Regions from separate parts of the Homo sapiens genome. Here region 2 is linked to region 1. The links are contacts of gene promoters, found by promoter capture Hi-C in blood cells and fetal thymus (Javierre and others, 2016). All regions are on one chromosome and are shown on one strand. The core of a region is centred on a gene start or on the middle of the fragment in contact, and the rest is flanking DNA. Distances in the headings are between cores, read along the strand shown.

The links. The method cuts DNA at HindIII sites, captures the fragments that hold promoters and counts their contacts. A CHiCAGO score of 5 or more calls a contact.
Region 2: a contact is called between a fragment that was not itself captured here and the fragment with the promoter of SELENOT in region 1, in 1 of 17 cell types (fetal thymus). The highest score is 5.3, in fetal thymus.

Annotation. Positions count from the first base shown.
Region 1 is chr3:150,600,935-150,607,251 of GRCh38, reverse strand. SELENOT (selenoprotein T) reads right to left here and starts at 3,931. Exons shown (of 6, transcript NM_016275.5): 1 at 3,753-3,931. The coding sequence starts at 3,889. LOC124900547 (a long non-coding RNA gene) reads left to right here and starts at 4,069. Exons shown (of 2, transcript XR_007096128.1): 1 at 4,069-4,308. RefSeq lists enhancers at 3,473-3,772, 3,047-3,820, 3,793-3,942, 4,063-4,142. The HindIII fragment of the contact is 3,294 bases long and covers 1,166-4,459 here.
Region 2 is chr3:152,254,405-152,260,721 of GRCh38, reverse strand. It overlaps a transcript of MBNL1 not described here. Among named protein-coding and RNA genes, the nearest start is that of MBNL1, 11 kb to the left of the region's middle. The HindIII fragment of the contact is 1,213 bases long and covers 2,555-3,767 here.

The DNA.
Region 1 (6,317 bases), core at 2,682-5,181:
GTTTCATTTACCTCTTAAAACTACATTTAGAAGTTGGCTGTCCTAAAATTACAGCAGTAGATTCTCAAACTAACAAAACTTTGAAAATCCCGCCATATTCTACTTATGTTTTGAAATCTCAATTTCATTTAATCTACTATTCTCAGCAATTCAGTTGTCAAATGTTCAAGTAAATATTAACTGTAAAGGGTTGTAGCCAATAATCTCTTTAAACTGCAACTAATTAAATGCTGTAGATCTGATTACATGTTAAATCGCATATACGGAGAAAGTATGTATGACAAACATCATGCCTAAGAGTAACTATCAATACAAATTTATAAAAATCAATAAAAGGAAAACACAAAAAGGGAATTTCAGCCGGGGGCAGTGGCTCAAACCTGTAATCCTAGCACTTTGGGACGCCAAGGTGGGTAGGTCACTTTGAGGTCAGGAGTTCAAAATCAGCCTGGCCAACATGGTGAAACCCCGTCTCTACTAAAAATACAAAAATTAGCCAGGCGTGGTGGTGCACACCTGCAGTCCCAGCTACTCAGGAGGCTGAGGCATGAGAATCTCTTGAGCCCAGGAGGCAGAGGTTGCAGTGAGCTGAGATCACACCACTGCACTCTAGCTTGGGCAACAAAGCAACACTGTCTCAAAAACAATGGAATTTTAAGCTCTGATTAGAGAACTTCCTTTTTCTATGTTAAGTGTTAAACGTCCAAATAAGCAGAATAAATTTTTTTCCAAGTATGAAGCCAATATAATCAAAAGTATCTAATTATATTGCTCAATCAACATAATAAACCACAGACTCAGATACACAAGTAATACTGTGCCAGTCTGGTAGACTTCTTGAGATGGTCACATCTTTAGCATGCTTAATTCCTGGCATACAGCAGGTATTACACACAGCCTGGGCAACAAGGCAAGACCAGGTCTCTACAAAAAATATGAAAATTAGCCAGGCGTGGTGGTGCGCGTCTGCAGTCCCAGCTACTTGGGAGGCTGTGGTGGGAGGATTATCGGAACTCAGGAAGTCAAGGCTCCGTGATCATGCCATTGCACTCCAAACTGGGTGACACAGCGGGACTCTGTCTCAGCAAAAAAAAAAAAAAAGGAAGAAAGAAAGGAAAAAAAAAAACGAGAATAGGAAACTCTGTCGTAAGCTACTCTACAAGCTTGATCTCTCAGCACTATGTTGCTATTGTGTTGACTAACAATTGCAAAAGTGGTACAATTACCAGGTGATATATTGAGGTATAGTTATTTTTGATAAAATACTCATGATCACTATAAGGGGAAAAAGTCAGTGGAAATGAAGGTAAAATAGTTCTCTTTTGATTGTTAGCAGTGGTAATTAATGAAAAGCTGCATTTTATAATACTGACTTCAAATGGAATTTTAAAATTCTCATGTTTATCCTCAAACGTATTAGCTTCCTGTCCTTTCTCAAACAAACTTGCAAATTAATGTCCACAAGATTCTAGCAAAACCAGAAACCCAATATTCACTTTACCATAAACAGATTAATCTCTGGGGGGAAAAGCAACAAACAACAAGCTAAGTTGATCTGTATTTGGTGGGTCTTATTAATAACGTTATTTCCCATCTACAGATTAAACAAAAAATGATCTCCGGTGGATAGTGTCAGAAAAATAAAAATAAAAATAATTTTTTAAATGGAAGCATTTTTGTTATATAACATGCTCAGAGTGACTGTAAAAGAAAATTATTAGACTTTTGGGACAGGTCTGTACTTAAAAACAAAGAAAAACAAAGTATCAAAAGTTTAACTGAAGTACTTACTACTTTTTTTTTAAGTTTAATTTGAAGGACTGAATGCCCTTCCCTACGTTTGTTTACACATTTTGAAAACCTTGCTATGAATAGCCTTGGTGGAAGATACACCTGGTAAATTATTGTGACAAGTGTTCCAAAAAAAGCAAACGTAAAAGGGGTATTTTGGAAAAGCAAAAATACAACCAAGAGATAAAAGTAGGATACAGAAAAATTAAATAATTTGAAAACTGCAATTTTTTAACACTTAAATCCGTAAGTATCACAACCCTTAACAATCTTTAGGTTAGTAAGATGATTACCACCTTCTAATTTAAAAATTAAGGAAAAAAGTTAATGGATAAACCATTCTCCCATTTGCAGTATTACATGAAAGATGATATATTCCAGAAACATAGTACATTGTACAGGGAGGTTTTTTTTTTTTTTTTTGAGACGGAGTTTCGCTCTTGTTGCCCAGGCTGGAGTGCAATGGCGCGTTCTCGGCTCACCGCAACCTCCGCTTCCCGGGTTCAAGCGATTCTCCTGCCTCAGCCTCCCAAGTAGTTGGGATTACAGGCATGCGCCACCACGCCAGGCTAATTTTTGTATTTTTAGTAGAGATGGGGGTTTCTCCATGTTGGTCAGGCTGGTCTCGAACTCCCGACCTCAGGTGATCCGCTAGCCTCGGCCTCCAAAGTGCTGGGATTACAGGCGTGAGCCAGCGAGCCCGGCCTTGTTTGTTTTTAATCAGGAGAAATTGCAATGTTTTAGTTTTCACTCAAAAAAATAAAGTCTCACCATCTTATTTTCTAACTCAAACATCACCTTAAGCCGATTTTTAAAAATTATTTTAAAGGTTTGCTTGGTCTTCAGTGAGTAAGTAAAAAGCTAGTTGGAGAAGTAGAAAATCAAAACTTTAATATACTAATACATGAAGTTCTTAAAAGAAGGTTTTAAATGAATGATGTCCAACACCAACATTCCAATGTATCCGGACTCTGATGATTTACTAATCTGGCTATTCTGGGATGGTCGGTTTATCCTGAGAAAATGTCATCTTTGGAGGTGTAAGATTCTCATTTCTATAATTTTACAATTTTGGTGTTTTTTCCCCCATCTTCAGAGCCTTTCAATCCCCACCCGCAACCCCACTTACCGTATAAAATGCATCATTGCCCTGCTTCTAACGATTAGGTTAAAAACAAAATCATTTAAAGAACACTGTCGAAAACTGCCGAGATCTGCTGGATACACAAGACAACTGAAAGGTAGAAAGAGATGCCAGAGCAGGCAACTCCTGGGAGGCAGGTGAGGAGGGAATGCGAGCGAACTGTCAATGTTTAGAAGAACAACGTGCTCCTTTTCTGACACTTTGGAAATGGCAAACAGAACCAGCATCCCCAGACCTTCCTTCCACCCCCTCCAGCTGTCAGACGCCCCATTCGCAAACTCAACAGTCCCCCCAGCAAGTTCAGGAGAAAAACGGCGTCTGTCACTCCCGGATCCTCTCCAATGACCCGAATTAACCTTCATCTAGCCAGGCAGCGAAGCCGCCCGGCATTACCCCGGAAAAGAGGGCAGAAAAAGTGAACTGACAAACGGTTGGCGCTCCTCCGCCGACGCGGCGCCTACTCATCCCCATCTCCGCAGGCAGCCGGGGTGGCTATGGCGTGACGCCGCCAACCAGTCCTCCGTACTAACAGGTGTCCCCCAGTCTTCGCCTTTCAGCGTTTAACCTTCTCGCGCCCTCCTTCCCCATTCCCACTGTTCTAGGAGGCAAAAAACAAGTGAGCAGTTATACCTGGAAAAGGAGGGCGGCCTGACCGCGCTAAGGGGCCGCGAGAAGGCTGGCTGTGGAAGGGCGCCGGCACAGTTCTACGAGGCCAGCGAAGATGCGGCCATTTAGGCCGCGAAGCCGGGGCCTCGCGTAGCCAATGGCGCCGAGCAGAGGCGCGGCGGGGTGGCCGGGGCCCAGTGCACATACTCACCAAATCTGGAACTTGAGCAGCGGCCCCGTGGCGTACTGCATCTTTAATCTCTTGCTGGGCACGCCGCCCAGATTGGCCGAGGCCTCGCTCCGGACCATCGCAGACGCCGCCACTAGGAGAAGCAGCAGAAGCCTCATCTTAAATGAGCCAGCCACTTCGGCCGCCCTCAGACAGACTGCAGCCAGCCCAAAGCCCAGGAGCGAGCTGCTCCCCACTGCGCAGGCGCGATCAGCCAAGGTCGGGGGAGGGGAGCAGTAATGCGCCTGCGCGGCCCGGCGCCCGCGCACACTCCTGGAGTGAAGAGCCGACCTGTTTCACTGTCCTGACTCACCACCATCTTGGTAGTGTGCAAGACTCTGGGACGGCATGAGAAAGGCAGAAAGGGAGCAAAGGAGCTGGTGGGGTGTCACAGGGCCTATGTATGAGGCAGATGTGAGTTCTGCATCCAGTTTTGCAATTTATCCATTTACCTGCCTGAGACTTGGAAACACCTACTTTATAGTCCTGATTCAAGTGTTGGCGGATGGAAGGGAGGAGACTCCTGACCCTCAGAATGGTAATGCTGAAATTTTTTGGGTGCGCTGTTATGGCCTTTTCTTTGATCTTACAATATTGCTTTCTCCTGAAAGAATATTAAACATAAGTTTTAGGAAACCTTTGGACAATTCCAAACATATCCAAAAATAGAATAACTACCTTAGCAAGCTTTAACAGTTACTATACATTTTGACAATCTTGATTTGTCTATATCTCTAAACACTTCTTCCCTTCCTAGGCATATTTGGAAGCAAATCTCAGACATCATATCATTTCATCTGTATATATATATTTTTAAACACGGTCTCACTGTCACCCAGGCTGGAGTTCAGTGGCGTGATCATAGCTTACTGCAGCCTCACACCCCTGGGCTCAAGCAGTCCTGCCTCAGCTTCCCAAGTGGTTAGGAATACAGGCACAGGCAACTATGCCTGGCTTACAATTATTTAAGCACATATTTCTAAAAAAGAATTATTATTAAAAAGAAAAAAAATTGACCACAGTGTTTCACATGTCCGTGTGAAGAGACTACCAAACAGGCTTTGTGTGAGCAACACAGCTGTTTATTTCACCTGGGTGCAAGCGGGCCGAGTCCGAAAAGGGAGTCAGCAAAGGGTGGTGGGATTATCATTGGTTCTTATAGGTTTTGGGATAGGCGGTGGAGTTAAGAGCAATATTTTGGGGGCAGGGGTTGGATCTCACAAAGTACATTCTCAAGGGTGGGGAGAATTACAAAGAACCTTCTTAAGGGTGGGGGAGATTACTGATCAACAAAGTACATTGATCAGTTAGGGTGGGGCAGAAACAAATCACAATGGTGGAATGTTATCAGTTAAGGCTATTTTCACTTCTGTGGATCTTCAGTTGCTTCAGGCCATCTGGATGTATATGTGCAGGTCACTGGGGATATGATGGCTTAGCTTAGGCTCAGAGGCCTGACATTCCTGTCTTCTTATATTAATAAGAAAAATAAAACAAAATAGTGGTAAAGTGTTGGGGCAGCGAAAATTTTTGGGGGTGGTATGGAGAGATAATAGGCGATGTTTCTCAGGGCTGCTTCGAGCGAGATTAGGGGCGGCGTGGGAACCCACAGTGGGAGAGATTCAACTGAAGAAAGATTTGGGGGTAAGGGGTGATATTGTGGGGTTGTTAGAAGGAGCATTTGTCGTATAGAATTATTGGAGATGGCCTGGATGCAGTTTTGTATGAATTGAGAAACTAAATGAAAGACACAAGGTCCGAATAAAAGAAGGAGAAAAATAGGTATTAAAGGACTAAGAATTGGGAGTACCCAGGACATCCAATTAGAGAGTGTCCAAGGGGGTTCAACGTTGTTGTCTGCTTGGTTGGAGAGTTTTTGGGCTCTATCTCTATCCTTAAGTTTTTTTATGTTGTCATATACCAGGCCAGATTGATTTAGGTAAAAACAACACTCTTCATTTAAAAATATACAAAGTCCTCCTTTTTCAGCAGTGAGTAAGTCGAGGCTTCAGTGATTTTCAAGGAAAGAGAGGAGGTGGGAAGGCCAAACTGAGGAATTATGTCTGACAGAAGGGAAGAAATGACCGCGGTGGCCTTCTTAGACCCTGTGGGAAAGGCCTCTACCCACCCAGTGAAATGTCTACCCAAACCAAGAGGTATTTTAGTTTCCTGACTTGAAGCATGTGAGTAAAGTCAATTTGCCAGTCCTCGGCGGGGCAAATCCCCGAGCTTGATGTGTAGGGAAGGGAGGGGGCCTGAACAATCCCTGCAGGGTAGTAGAATAGCAGATGGAACATTGAGAAGTGATTTCCTTGAGGATAGATTTCCACGATGGAAAGGAAATGAGAGGTTCTAAGAGACGGGTTAGCAGCTTGTAACCTACATGGAAGTGGTTATGAAATGACGACAGAATAGAATGGGCCTGTGAGGCTGGAAGGAGATATTTTCCTTGGTCCAAGAACCATTTGCCTTGTGTGGGAAGAGATTGATAGGCGGAAGTTTCAGTGGGGGAGTAGGTGGGAGTGACCAGATGAGAAGGAGAAAAAC
Region 2 (6,317 bases), core at 1,912-4,411, 1.7 Mb before region 1:
TCCTACATATTCTAAAATGCTTAGTTTGCTGTTTGTTTAAAATTCTATACCCTGTCTCTTGCTAAGAAATTGTGATTATAAGCACCCCCTTGAGAGTGACATCAGAGCCTCTGAGAGATAAAGTGTGTCCTTGGCCACTTCCTTTTGAAGATATACATATCTTCACCAGTTACATACTCATACATGTAATTATGTGTATTCAACAAAAGCTATTCTGTACATTCAATATATTTTATAAATTCGTTCAATAAATTAACATAGTTAAATTATAAACACAAACAAGTTAGCAGAACATACCTCACTTGAAACTCATTTGAAGATAATGCTAGACATCTTAGTTTATGGCCTTCGTGAATGTGCCGTCAGTCCAGTTGACCCTCCTGGCCCCACCTGGATGGATCTGAATGCCCATGTTTCTGCAATGGGCTTAGCAATGAGTAACTGCTGACAGGGCCTGATTCCATCGAGCCCTCCCAGTAATGAATGTGTTTTTAGACAATGTGGAGCATTCTTTTCCTTTTTCAAACTTTTCTGGCCATAGGTCACCAGCTCACCAGTTACTGCTGCATTTTCATTCTAAACCTTATTGCTATCAACTTTCCTATCCAGTCTACAATAGTCACTGAGCACCTGGCATAATTCCAGTCTTTCCTAGAGTCTGAGGCTACATGGTAAGAAAAACTAGACCTGAAGCCTCTTGAAATATGCAGTATAACAAGGACAATGAATATGAAATGGTAAATAATTATGATCAACTAAGTAAATAATATAAATGTGCAAAATTTAGTGAATGAGAAAAATGAGAGTGTGTATCTGGTGAATCTAAACAGATAAACAATTATAATTATTTTATTGCTCTCTCCCTTTTTTATTGAATTCAAATGTCTCACATTATAGTTGAAAGTCTTCACAGTATTTGTACTACATGTGCACATTGAATTCTTCTTCATTTGTAAGGACAGAATTCTATTACTAGTTGCATGAAATAGTGACTATTTGTGTTAAGTGGCAAGGTGTCCATCACATAGCCTCTAAAGGCAGGGTCGGAAGAAATCTCTGACTGATCATTAGTACTATGCTCTTGCTGTTGCAGTCTTTGGTGTTACTGTCATTCACTTCCTGGGCTTAATCTTTTAAGGGTATGATATCTACAGACAAAGCTAGCCAGCTTATCTTTGATAACTTCAAGAAGTACAGCATGTCGGCTTTTGGATTAATATTTGAAAATAAAATAAAAATTTAATTTTATTATCACTTGTTTTGTCAAAAATCAAAGGCTCTTTTAAAATCTTTTTTGGCTGGATGTAAAATGATTTTTTTCTGTTTCTGGATATAAGGTAACCTGTGCTTATTTTGAATGATGTATCAAGTGCCTTTAATAGAAGTTTAACGATTCTGTTCAAGTTACTACTATAAAGATGTTTATGCATAGTTATTCTAGACTAGCAAAAGAGCAGTAATCTATAACTCCCACCCACATACTTACTCCCATGCACAGTGTTTCTTCCTTCTACAGCTTTAAGACTCCCACGCTTCTGCAAAAGCACTTTCCTACTTGTCATTTAGTCTTTACAATTAAGTAAAGAAAAAGTTAATTGTATAAAAGAAGCTGGTTTCTTGGACCTCTCTCTTTATGGAGTTGTACTCTCTAAAGATAGCCTAAATTATAGACTTAGCCAGGACAGTTTTTCCCCTTCGGAGACCTTTGAAGTTTGTTTATTCTTACAAAGCTCTGGAAGGCTCGTCTGAAAGAAGCTGTAAATAATTTGCCAAGGTCCCTAAATACCAAGAAGCCCACGTGGACACTAGAAGGTGTCAACTTTTCTTGATTACTCTTGAACTTGTGGGAAAGGGAATGTTTGGCACCAATATCAGATTCATAGAAGGCAGCCAAAATTAATTGTTAGAAAGAAGGTATGCTTAGACGATATGTGGCATAACTTTGGGCATTTTCCTTCCCATGATGAAAGAAGCAGCCGATGAAGTAAATCTGTTTTGTTTATGACTAGATTACTCAGTGACTAAAAGGAAAACACTGTCTACTTTGGGGTTATTGGCAACAGATATATACATACCAAGTATGACACATGGGCTAGTTTCCACTGGCAGTAGTTATTGATGTTGCAACCTTGGTCTTTGCTGCAACCTTGCCCTGCTGCCTTTGTTGTTGGCTGCTCTTGGCAACAGGGCATACCCACCTCCCCCTGACAACCAACTTGGTGCAATGGCCTGCACATGACCCACACACTTTTTAGAAGAATCAGGGCAGGAAAAGATTAAGTGTAATTTCCCATGGCCTTGGCTATTAGACATAAAGACAGGCTTTAGAATCTGTTATTAGGCATAAGATTTTGGACAATTTTTTCCTAGTCTCAGGTTCCTGCAAACTTAAAATGTCTACCTTGTGGAATTATGATAATAAATGACTTCATGAGAATTATCCTAACATTGATCAGGCCTTTGATAAATTACAGCTATTTTCATTATTTAAAATAGTAATTAGAAATTTTAAAATACAGAATATGTTTTTTAAAAAATAAGCTCTTGTTAAGCTTCAAGTCTCTTCAAAATATGAGGATTCAAATCAAATTACAAATTTTAAGAAATATATAGCTATTTTCTACAAGATGGTATAGGTATACAGAGATACCTTTACAGTTTTTATATTAGGTAGGATGTAATTAAAAAGGAGCCCAAGATGTTTCCTGAAATGATTAACAGGAACTTTAGAAACATAACTATTGATTGGTCAGTGCACAGGTTTCTTTGGTCGAACTTTTCTCACCCACTTTACAAGCAAAAACATGAGAAAGACAAGTCAAATGAAGCCAAGCAAATGGTATCTACCACATTAACGAAGAGTATAAGATGCACAGTTGCATGAAAACCACTTCCTTTAGCACTATATTTCAAAAATTTTTTTTTACTCCGCCAGAGCTGTCGCCACAGGAAGGAAAATTTAGTTGTCTTCTTGCTTATTTAAGGAACACAAGTCAAGAGATTATTCCAGGCATTACTTCGTGTTTTTAAGCTCTTACTCCTACCTCCCTGAAAAATGTGTCTCCTGACTTCATCAGAACAAACACACTCAGAATTTTAAGAGGAGAAAATAATGATTATGTGTTGCTAAGTACTATTTTAGTAACAAATGCTTGGGCCACTAAAATTATGACATCACCCACAGAAAGAATAACATTTACACTTTTGAGAGATTTTTTTTTTTTCCTAACATGATGGGTCACCAATGAGAGGAGGAAAGCCAAATAAAGGCACAAGGAGAGGCCTCTTGGCTCTGGAGAAGGCATCCTTAGCATCCTCTTCTGAAGGGTGATCATAAGCCCCAAGTTAATTAAATAGGCCCAATGTCTGCCTGCTCTTTCTGTATTCCCTTCCTGAATCTAGTTCATGTCAACAAATGTGTACTATTATTGTAGAAAATCGAATGCTCTCATACTTTTAATAGGTTTGCTTCTTGGTTAATATGCCCAGGTCAGGAAGTGGCTTATATTTCAGGAGTGCTCTCTAATACTTATTGCAGATATTCAAGCATTTATTCTCTCACACACACGCACTTAAAAACCGCACACTACCTCACACTCTGCAATAATCCGATAGTATGGTGGTCATCATACCCACATATATACATGATAAGATAGAATGCATTGCTTAAATAGCACATAAGTCATCTATAATCCTCCACACCCTGTAATACCAGTAGCACAATGGTTTTCTATTTGGAGGTTGCCAGGAGCACTCAAAAGTAAGCTTCTGGCTCCTACAACAACACATCCAACTGCCTTGGGGACAACATGATTGTCATCCTTCTAGTACACACTCAGTCCAAGGCCAGGTAATGTTTTTTATGGGCGGCTTTTAACCTGAACCAGAAATAGAAGAATCTATACTTGTTGTTATTAACTTCTTAAGTATGAGGGAAGGCCATTTTTTCCATCATTCCTAACAAATAAATATTGAGCTTGTTTACTCAATTTAAAAAGAGTCTTTTCAGTAAGCTATTCTGTATTCTTTCTCCAAATCACAGCCCTCAACCTCCTACCCCTTAAAGGAAGCAGTGTCCAACTAACAGAGATTTAAAATGTAGTGATATGATTCATTTAGATCTCTTAGGATAATAAAAATAAATCATAGGGAATATAATTACCATGGAAAATGGCAGAGTAATTTACGTCTACTTTTAAGGGGAGCGGGTTGATGTTGCCAGGGATTGCTATCCCTAATCCCAATAGCTACTGGGATTTGGGAACAATAAACAAGGAAACATCTGTGGTCTCTGGAGGCTAAAATATAGTTGTTTCTGTAGTCTTTTCTGCTTCATCCATGCAGAAACTAGGTTGCATGATGACACCATTATCAGAAATCAGTGTACATATCTTCAAATGGCCAAGATTAGAGTCAATTATTCCATGACAATTTTTGCTGAAAACATTGAGTTTACAAATTTAAATAATACCTGAGCCCCTTTCACTTTTATCCAGGTAAACTTGGCTTATCTAAAATTCACCTAAATGTAATAATTTATCTCCTATGAAACTTTTACCTATGTAGTAATTCCTGTTTCTCTTCATACAACAGTTTTTCCAAGACTGTGTTAGCCAGAGATAATGGTCATTCATTGCATTCCCATCCCCAATTAAGACACGTGCACGTCCTTGCAAATGTTTGCTCATATGTGCAACTCCATTCCTTGGTCTGCAGTCTATGTGACTTGGCCCTTTCTCAACTCCAGCTCCTGAGCTTCATCTCCCACCATCCTTTGAGACCCAGGCTCTTTTCTACTTCTCAGATATGCCAAGCTCATTCTGGCCCTTGCGCTGGTCAATCACTCTTCCTGAACTACTCTTCCTGGAGTCGTCTGCATGGTGCTCTCAATCCTCTCACTGTTCAGGTCTTAGCTTAAATATTACCTTTTCAAATAGGCCATCTCAGGAGACCACCTACGTAAAGATGATTTTCCCATCTTCTCTTTATCCTTTTACTATGCTGGATTTTCTTCTGGTCACTATCACTATCTAGAAGTCCTTTAAAATTTTATTTCTTTACTAGTTTACTCCATTCTTTCCCCACTAGACTGAAGGCTGCTTGAGGGTAGAAACTTGATCTTGTCCGTAACTATTTCCCCAGCACCTAAAATAGTGCCCAAAGTATACTGCTTGATATATGACTTCATGAATAAACTCACTTTAAAATGAAAACAGAGCTTCTTGCAAGAGTTAAAAATCCTCTCATCACATAACCCACTTCCTGAGAAGAACCATAAAGTCAGAGCCACCAAATATCTCCTGTGGTAGCACTATAGGAGATAATGCTCAATATTAAAAAGGCTCAATATTTTAAGTTAAGGCTCAATATTAAATTAATGTAATATTAGAATATTTTTATTTCTTTGAAAATTTTCTGGACTCTTCTGAAAATTTATTATCACAACTTTTCTCCACCTAATGAAACAATTTCAATAGTTCAGCTTTAAACCAGCTACCTCCAGGGAGCCTTGTAACCATCAATACACCTGGAAGTACAGTTCTAAATTATTTTGATCTTTCATGTGGCACCTTCTATTTTTTATGCTGTGTCTTAAAATCTATTTCTTTTAATATTTACTCCACCAAATTGTAAGATTTCTGGCTTAGGACTGCATCATAATAATCTATAAATTCTTAACTGTATCTAAACCACAGATTTACCTACTTTGCTTCTCAGAAATTAAGTGGTATAGGCCATATATAAATATGATGCAGATCCAGTTTAGAGATAGACACACCAGGATCAATTGTGTGACCTTTATTAAGCTACCTACCTCTCTGAACTTCTATATTTTTCCTTAAATCTGTAAAGTGGAAATAATAGTACTTATTTCATAGGACTGATGAGGGCATTAAATTCGTTAATCATGTGAAGCACCTGACATGATGATACAAAAAAAGTTTAACACGAAATAGCAGAGCTATTATTGTTACTAACTTTGCAATTATCATCATTATCATTGGTTTTATTATTATTTAGGGCCTTATAATCTCAAAAACTTAGTTATATGTTAATACATATAACTAACCTTGATATTTTGGATGTACAAGAAAAAGAATTTTCCTAGAGTAGTTTTATAATCCATTTCAAGATCAAAAATAGAACAAGGAAGTAATTACAAAAAAATATTGAAAATAAGCATAGATGTGAGGCCAGCATAGGCAGATGGCTAATCAGGAAAGGATTCTGGAGGGAGATTACTCTTCCATGTAGTTGAGGAAAACAATGAACCCTAACTGTCAAGGAAGAGTGGGTGCATGCTTTTCTTGGGGGTG